Regions from separate parts of the Homo sapiens genome. Here region 1 is linked to region 2. Evidence: promoter capture Hi-C in 16 types of primary human blood cells and fetal thymus (Javierre and others, 2016). All regions are on one chromosome and are shown on one strand. The core of a region is centred on a gene start or on the middle of the fragment in contact, and the rest is flanking DNA. Distances in the headings are between cores, read along the strand shown. Region 1 overlaps LOC124905975 (a long non-coding RNA gene). Region 2 holds the start of MRPL19 (mitochondrial ribosomal protein L19).

Region 1 (4,874 bases), core at 2,069-4,568, about 60 Mb after region 2:
GTTAGAAGTACAGAGTTGGGAACCATATTCTGAGTTTGGATTCTAGGTCTGCCACTTGCTTGCTGTGTGACCTTGAACAAGTCATGAAGCTTCTTTGGGCTTCAGTTTACTTACCTGTGAAATAGGGATGAACAATAGTACCTTTCTCATATGATAGTTATGAGGATCAAATAAAATACATAAAGCATCTAAAATAGTGCATAGCACATGGTGACAATATAACTAGCTCTGTTATTACTATTACATGTAACAGGATTCACCTGAAGCTCCAAAGGCCCAGGACAATACACTCAGCCCTGCAGCTTTACACTTCCAGGGGGCACTATTCACATTATATTCTCTATTCTTGTTATATTTTGTCTAAATAAGACCCTGAGAGTTATGCAGTGTACCAGTTTTGAATGGATACCAAGTACCCCCACATTCCAAGGAGAGATACAAGACCCATATTATGCAGGACTTGCCAAAGGGAAATCTGAAATCTAATTTTTGTGCCTTTTGCCAATGCCCACCTTTAAAGTGTGAAAAATCGGCTGGGCATGATGGCTCATGTCTATAATCCCAACACCTTGGGAGGCTGAGGCAAGGGGATCACTTGAGCCCAGAAGTTCAAGACCAGCCTGGGCAACATAATGAGACCCCCATCTCCAAAAAAAATTAAAAAATAGTTGGGCATGGTGCACACCTGTAGTCTCAGCTACTTGGGAGGCTGAGGTGGGAGGATCTCTTGAGCCTAGGAGGTGGAGGCTGCAGTGAGCTATGATGGTGTCACTGTACTCCAGCCTGGGTGGCAGAGCAAGACCCTGTCTCAAGGAAGAGATAAAGTATGAAAAAATTAAAGATGCAAATTAAGAGAAAAGATTTCTGTGAAAAGAATGCATTTCAGGGAAATACTCTGAGAACTTTTGATCTGAGAGTTTGGGAAGCGTAAGGACTGCTCTGAGAAGCCGTCCCTAGGAGGACCTGAGGTGGCAGGGCAGAAAAAGAGACAGAGAGAAGGAGAGAGAAGCCTGCTGCAGGAGTTAACTGTGGGGGAATCGTGTGACATTTTTTCCCCAAGGGATAAATAGATCTGTGGAGAGTGGACTGGAAGTTTTCTTCAAAGGGAATGTGCCCAAGAGACTTCCCGGAGGAGCTAAATGATTCAGCACACAGACCCCCCAAAGAACGCAGTGGCATCCTTACCTTCCAAACTGGAGAAGAGATATCTCTTGTCTCATGGGAGTTGCATGTGGAGGATGCCAGCAAGGAGAATCTCCAAGATACCACAAAAAGTTCCCTCTAAGAGAAACAATCAGCCTTGAGCATGTCTAAGCCAGAAAGCACCAGAATCAGATCACCATAAACCCAGCCAGATAAAGGTGTGTACCCACCCGCCACCCCATCCCCTAGACTTTATCCTTCCCAGGAGTCAGAAACAACAGCTAATGGGAGAGGCGAGTACAGAAAAGAGACTGACCCCATCCTCCATCCCACTGCAGGCTTCTGGCGTGGAATAGGCCAAGCAGGAAGAGGAGGAAGCCATGATGTTGGTTGAAGTTGTGAATTTCAATCACGATCCTGGACATGATAGTTTACAGAAACGAGGGTATAATTAGATGAAAGTAACCAGACAACTCTTCATTGTCTCAGAGTGACCAGAAAAGCTCTGGAAGATGCCAGAGACTTCATCTAGGTCAGGGAAAGAAATAACCCATAGAGATGATTTCAAGGTAACAGATAATGTTTTCTGTTTGTGCCTTATCAAGTTCAGCTCACTTAATATACTGCTTTAATAATTATAGATATTTGTATGTATGTGTTGCAGTGCCCTCAGTAATGCAAATTGGGATATGTGAATTGGGGTATGATTGGCTCCTCTCCTTGGCAGGTAGAATAACACCAGGCAGAGAAACAGCAGCCAGGCCCTTCACCAAACCAAAAGATAGAGGATGGGTGCCTTTCAGTCTGGTATTTTGCTGGTCTAGTCTCCCCAAGAATAGGTTGATTTAATGGTTGCCTACTAACTGGGAGATTCCTAGAAACCCTGGCCTGGTCCCAGAAACCAGGACAGACACCACCAGGTGGCACCAAACTGTAGCCAAACTGAGAAGAGATTGGACTGGACCCTAAAAACTCCCAGCGTAGGCTTTTGTTCATCTGTCTCCATTTATACAAATGGACGTGCGACATTTAAGGCGGGTGATGGAAGTCTTCAACAACTGGATTGTGGTGCTGGTTGCACAGCTCTGTGAATCATTGAATTGTACATTAGTGAATTTTATGGTATTTAAATTATACCTTAATAAAGCTGTTTAAAAAATTATAATTAAAAAACACATATGGCTGAGCGTGGTGTCTCATGCCTGTAATCCCAGCACTTTGGGAGACCGAGGTGGGTGGATTACCTGAGGTCAGGAGTTCAAGACCAGCCTGGCCAACATGGTGAAACCCTGTCTCTACTAAAAATACAAAAAATTAGCCGTGCTTGGTGGCGGGCGCCTGTAATCCCAGCTACTTGGGAGGCTGAGGCAGGAGAATCACTTGAACCCAGGAGGCGGAGGTTGAAGTGAGCCGAGATCATGCCACTGCACTCCAGCCTAGGCGACAGAGCAAGACTCTGTCTCAAACACACACACACACACCCCTCAGCCTGGGCTTGCCCCCAGTATTTTTTTTTTAACCTCAGAATAACCCCACATTTTCTGTAATTGGGTAGTTTGGGCCCCACTAATCATGTGATAGGGAAGTTTTACTATGTTATCCATGGGCCCAAGATATTATGCTATGTATTTTCAAGTAAGCTATATTATAATTATATCCCACTGTAGAGCAAATGGTTTTGCAACTACTAAGGCAGACCTGAAAAAAAATGCCTTCAGGTATCTGGGAAAGTGTAGAGAGGATGGGTCCTGGGAAGGCCTCTGTAGATGGACCACCCAAAAGCCATACACAGTTCCTAGGTTAGCTCATTTGTGCTGCTATAGCAAAATACCTGAGAATGGCTAATTTATAAGGAACAGAAATTATTTCTGCCAGTTCTGGAGGTTGGGAAGTCCAAGATTAAGGTGCCAGTAAGTTTATAGTCTGGTGAGGGTTTGGTTTCTGCTTTTAAGGTGGTGCCTTGAACACCATGTCCTCCAGCAGGGAGGAGCTCTATGTCCTTACATGGCAGGAGGTACAAGGGCAAGAGACCAAATGCTCCATGAAACTTCTTTTACAAGGGCTTCAATCCCATTCATGAGAGCAGAACCTTCATGGGCCAATCACCTCTTAAAGGCCCCCCTCTTAAAATTACATTGGCAATGTGAAGTTTGGAGGGAACATTCAAACAATAGTAGTCCCCTTTCCCATTGCCTTTCTTTATTATAGAAATCTGAAAAAGGCTGGACGTAGTGGCTTATGCCTTTAATTCCACCACTTTCGGAGGCCAAGGTGGGAGTATGACTTAAGCCCAAGAGTTTGAGACCATCCTGGGCAACATAGAGTCCCTTTCTCTAACAAAACTTTAAAAAATTAACCAAGCATGGTGGCACGCACCTGCAGTCCACCTATTTGGGAAGCTGGCCGGGGGAGGATCTTTTTTTTTTTTTTGAGATGGAGTCTCACTCTGTCATCCAGGCTAGAGTACAGTAGAGTACAGCAGCGTGATCTCGGCTCACTGCAAGCTCCGCCTCCTGGGTTCACGCCATTCTCCTGCCTCAGCCTCCTGAGTAGCTGGGACTACAGGCGTCCGCCACCATGCCGGGCTAATTTTTTTGTATTTTTAGTAGAGACGGGATTTCACCGTGTTAGCCAGGATGGTCTTGATCTCCTGATGTCATGATGAAGGATCATTTTTGAGCCCAAGAGGTCGAGGATGCAGTGAGCCGTGATCACACCACTGCACTCTAGTCTGGGTGACACAGCCACACTCTTCTCAAAAAGAAAAAAAAAATGGAAACTTGGAAGAAGAAGAAAACAATCACCTTTCCAGATTCCTTTGTAGAGAGACAGCCCAGAGACTCAGCTCTGCCTGGAGAGATATAACTGGCAGTGCCAGGTTGGGACTTCCAGGAATGCTTTTCAAAAGGGAAAGATCTGTCTGGCATGCACCGTTTTTCCTTTGGAACATTGATATGATGCCTGGAAAGTCAGCAATGAGTCCCGAAGATAAAAGCCGCACACTAAGACTACTGAAGCAGAAATAAAAGGCTGGATCCTTAATGATGGTAAGCCCAGGTCTGTCTACCTCTAGACCTCTCTTGCAGCTTGAGAATGTCCCAGTTAAGCCACTTTAAAATTTCTTTTTTCTGCAGCCCAACACTTTGCTAAGAGGTACAGAAAAGAAAGGAAATAAAACACACATCATTATGGATATTGTGTAATGTATCTTTCAGGAACATTTTTTGAATGTTTCATAATACAGCAATAATCAAGCTATTCTGGCTAAAAGGCGGAGGAGACATTTGGCCTGAGTTGTGAGGGAAACATCCAAAATTATCCCTGAATATATGGCCATTTCCTCACAATGAAAATGAAGGTGAAATGTGACATATACAGTAGAGGATGTGACTCTGAACCCAGCCTAGGGAACACAAGTCAAATTAGGTTGTTTAGTTTGTCCTTTCATTGACATCCACCCTCCTCCTCAGTTCCTATTCCCAGGTCCTTCTGGAACAAGATAAAGCCAGCTGCTTAGTTTCTGAGGATCTCACCACCAAGAAGGAGGAAGCAGCTAGAGAGAGAATTTGTTTTAATCTAAAAGAAGTTGAGTAGAAAATACAATATCGTCATCCATAAACCCCCTCCCTCACAAAGTCCTTCCTCACAATATAGAATACAAACCTACCCATCATTTCACACAAGTAACAGTAACCTTCCCCCTCCATAAATGCTGTCCGTGTAGGTTGCCC
Region 2 (4,279 bases), core at 1,762-4,261:
GCCAGGCATGGTGGCGGGCACCTGTAGTCCCAGCCACTTGGGAGACTGAGTAGGGAGGGGCCCAGGAGTAGGAGTTGCAGAGCCAAGATCATGCCACTGCACTCCAGCCTGGATGACAAAGCAAGGCTCTGTCTCAAAAAAATGGAACAGCAAGGCATTTCATCCCTCAATAATTTAGAAGGCTTATGCTAAGAATAAGGACTTGCTCCTATATTATCACGATACCCTTCTGACACCTATAAAAGTCAGCATTAATTTGATAACATAATCTAATACAAAGGTATCCAATCATCTGGCTTCCCTGGGACACACTGGAGGAATTATCTTGAGCCACACATAAAAGACACCAACAATAGCTGGTAAGCTTAAAAAAAAAAGGCACAAAAAAAATCTCATATGTTTTAAGAAAGTTTACAGATTTGTGTTGGGCCACATTTAAAGCTGTCCTGGGCTGTGGGTTGGACAAGCTTGGTCTAATACAGAGTTCATACTCAAATGTATGTCATTATCCTGGGAAGGTATTTTACATCTATTCGTTGCCCAATTCAAAATACAATCAAGCTTCACACATATTTGGTCATTAGTCTCTCAGACTAGGACTTTTTTCCAACTTTGTATTTTTATAACATTAACTTTTTTGAACAGTCAAGGCCTACTATCTCATCTCTGGATTCTGGATTGTTTCCACATGCCTAGACTAAGGTTAAATAATTTTAGTAAGAATATTACAGGGAGATGATGTGAACAACTTATTCTGTCACATCAGGAGACACATAATATCAACTGGTACCAATACTGGTAAAGTTAGGTTTGACTGTTTGGCAAAGTTTCAGAAGGCCCCCCTTACATTTCTTTTTACTTTTCATATGCATGTATGTCTGGGCAACATATATTGTTTCGTATAATTTTGTTTTTGTTTTTTTCTGAGACAGAGTCTTGCTCTATCGCCCAGGCTGGAGTGCAGTGGCACGATCTCGGCTCACTGCAACCTCGGCATCCTGTGTTCAAGCAATTCTTCTGCCTCAGCCTCTCGAGTAACTGGGATTATAGGCACATGCCACCACACCTGGCTAATTTTTTTTTTTTTTTGTACTTTTAGTAGAAATGGGGGTTTCGCCATGTTGGCCAGGCTGGTCTCGAACTCCTGACTTCGTGATCTGCCCTCCTCGGCCTCCCAAAGTGCTGGGATAACAGTCGTGAGCCACCGCACCCGGCCTATAGTTTTAAAACTTCATAAAAATAGCATCCTACTACATTAATGATTCTAAAGGTTTTTTTTACACACAGATTTGTGAAAATCTTCCATGTTTAAAAGTGAGCTCTAATTCACTCATTTTTCACTGCTATACAATATTCTGTCATATGAATGTATTTGCCTGTTCACCTACTGATGGATATCTAGGCTGCCTCTAAATTTTGTTACAAAAAATACTGTTACATTCATTCTCGTGCTTGTCTCCTTGTACATACACGTTAGGAGTTTAAGTTGTGTGCTTTCTGAGTGAGAAGGTATACACAACTTAAACTTAGTAAATTCTGTCAAATTGTTCTCTAGAGCATATAATTTACATTCCTATTTAAGTGAATTCTATTAAATGCCACTGTTTAAAAGAGATATTCCATTTCTACCCTCAAAAGCAAAGTTTTATGAAGAAATATTTTCTGAATCTCTTAGTTCTCTAACTCCAAGTTTACTTCTATTTAAATCCGTGGAATATTTTAAATGTTAAAAAAAGAAAAGAAAAAAAAAAGCCAGGCGTGGTACCAGTAGTTCCAGCTACTCTGGAGCCTGAGGCGGGAGGATCACTTGAGCCCAGAAATTTGAGGCTGCAGTGAGCTAAAATCACCACTGCACTCCAGCCTGGGAGACTGAGAGAGACTCTGTCTAAAAAAAATTTAAAAAATAAAAAAATTAAAAATCCCAGAAGTAATCCAATCAATAATCTACAGCCCTTTCAAAAAGCCTATAATCATATCAGGTTTTTCCTCTGAAAACTGGCTTTTTAAAAAGGTTGCTACATAGCTCTCTTTTCAGACCTTAAGTCCTTTAAATTTACATGTACCTCCAAGATTACCACCATTCATATAAGTTTTTATTCACACTATTTTGATGAGTAAGTTTCAGACACAATTTAGTGGCCAGTTTTACTGTGCTTTGTCTGCCAAAACTTCCAACCTAAACCATAGCAAATTTTTTAAGTTGGCCAATCGATTCCTATCCAGGGTTAAGGGTCTTTTGAGAGAAAAGAAGAGCTCTTGGACGTAAACAGGTATAAACAGGATATACCTCAGAGAAAAACTCTGGTACAGGACAAATACCACAGAGAAAAGAGTTTAAAATATGGGGAACCCCTACTTGAAGTTCTGACTCAATAAAACTGCAAAGAAGTTCAATGCTGGCTTGGGGAGAAGTGAGAAAGAAAGAACAGTGTGGTGCGCTGGCTCTTGAATCCTACACACCTGCTCGTGCAGGGGGAGGTGCAGCCCCCACCTTAGAGCCGGGACCTCGAACGCGAACGCGCTCACGCGCGCACCGACCCCAGTTGCCGGCCTAGCGCCAGGGCAGTGCCTCACCTGCGTTCCGGTTCCACGGGGCGGTGCTTGTCCACGATGACCGGTTTCGGCGGCGGTTGGAACGCACCGGGCTCGGAAGGCCCAGTGCTCTGCTGCCGGACAGGCCCCGCGTGGACCCCTGCGGGAGCGGACGACGGAGGTCAGAACTCTCGTGCCAACCCTGAGATCCCGCAGAGCCCCGCAATCTCCCCCAACCCGGCGTCCCACGGGGGACCAACGCTGGGGTTGCCTCTGATCTCCAGGTTCGCCTCCCCCATCCTGACCCTGGGCCCCTAACGCGCCCCAGCTCGCAAGTCCGGCTCCACTTACTGCAGGCGATAGAGGCCGGCGGGGGGAGCAGAGTCCTGGCGGCTTGGAAACTCCGGCCTAGGCCCATTGCAGCCCAGTGCCCCGCTGCAATGCAGGCCGCCATGCCAGCTAGCTCACGTCAAGACTACAGCTCCCAGTAATCAGTGCGACGAGGTTGTTGCTGTCTGCCACCATATGGCGGCTGCTATGGGACAAAATGGATAAGTCTCTCCTCGCTCCTTTCCTGATGTCTTAGGAAAAGTGCACGTTTCTCTAGTTCCTCGTAATGCGCCAAGTTACACCCCTCCACAGGGGTGTTCTCCCAGCCTAGAAAGCTTTTTCCTCCCCCTATGAATCCACTCTATCTTCTCAGACAAGCTTTCGCTATGCGAAAATCCCATTGTAGGCCGTCTTTCCCACTGGGTGCCTTCGATTGGCAGCTCTGATCTCATTTGCAATTCTTTCTTGTGTAATTATTAGATTAGTATTTAAATCTGCCATTATACTATAATGAGGCAAGGGAAGGGATAAAGTCTTCTTTTTGCTCACCATGTTATCCCAGCACCTAGCACCTACCTGGGCCCTCACTAACATCTTTTGTTTTGTTGAGACAAGGTCTTCCTCTGTTACCCAGGCTGGAGTGCAGTGGCGCGATCATGGCTCTGCAGCCTCCAACTCCTGATGTCAGGAGATCCTCTCACCTCAGCCTCCCGAGTAGCCAAGACTACAGTCTCGCACCATCACGCCCAGCTAATTTTTCTAATTCTTTGCTGAATGCACAGAAAAGAGAATAGAATAGTTCCTGACAGAACTGCTGGCCCATAGTCCTTGAGACTACACAAAGCATTAACCCTTTGAGGAACCCAAATGAATTTGGGCTGGGCAACTGTGGGTATGGATAGGTGGGAGAAGTAAAGCTGGAAAAGGTAAATTGTAAGTCTTGTTAAGAAATTTGGAAAATGACTGGGCGTGGCCAGGCATGCCTGTAATCCCAGCACTGTGGGAGGCCGAGACAGGAGGGTCCCTTGAGCTCATGAGTTGGAAACCAGCCTGGGCAATATAGTGAGACCGTATCTCTAAGAAACAAACACACAGCCGGGCGCAGTGGCTCACGCCTTTAACCCCAGCATTTTGGGAGGCCGAGGCGGGCAGATCGCCTGAGGTCAGGAGTTTGAGACTAGCCTGGCCAACATAGTGAAACCCCGTTTCTACCAAAAATAAAAAAAATGATCCAGGTGTGGTGGCAGGCTCCTGTAATCCCAGCTACTTGGGAGGCTAAGGCAGGAGAATCGCTTGAACCTGGGAGACAGAGGTTGCAGTGAGCCGAGATCGCGCCATTGCAACAAGAGCGAAACTCCGTCTCAAAAAAACAGAAAAAGAAACACACACAAAAAAAGAAATTTGGAATTTGTTATTT

The links. The method cuts DNA at HindIII sites, captures the fragments that hold promoters and counts their contacts. A CHiCAGO score of 5 or more calls a contact.
Region 1: a contact is called between a fragment that was not itself captured here and the fragment with the promoter of MRPL19 in region 2, in 2 of 17 cell types (total CD4 T cells and total B cells). The highest score is 11.4, in total CD4 T cells.

Annotation. Positions count from the first base shown.
Region 1 is chr2:15,585,713-15,590,586 of GRCh38, reverse strand. LOC124905975 (a long non-coding RNA gene) reads left to right here. Exons shown (of 2, transcript XR_007086224.1): 2 at 1-2,318. Among named protein-coding and RNA genes, the nearest start is that of DDX1, 3.7 kb to the left of the region's middle. The HindIII fragment of the contact is 6,453 bases long and covers 92-4,874 here.
Region 2 is chr2:75,645,515-75,649,793 of GRCh38, reverse strand. MRPL19 (mitochondrial ribosomal protein L19) reads right to left here and starts at 3,011. Exons shown (of 6, transcript NM_014763.4): 1 at 2,884-3,011; 2 at 2,575-2,692. The coding sequence starts at 2,986. RefSeq lists enhancers at 2,782-3,081, 2,917-3,211. The HindIII fragment of the contact is 2,636 bases long and covers 564-3,199 here.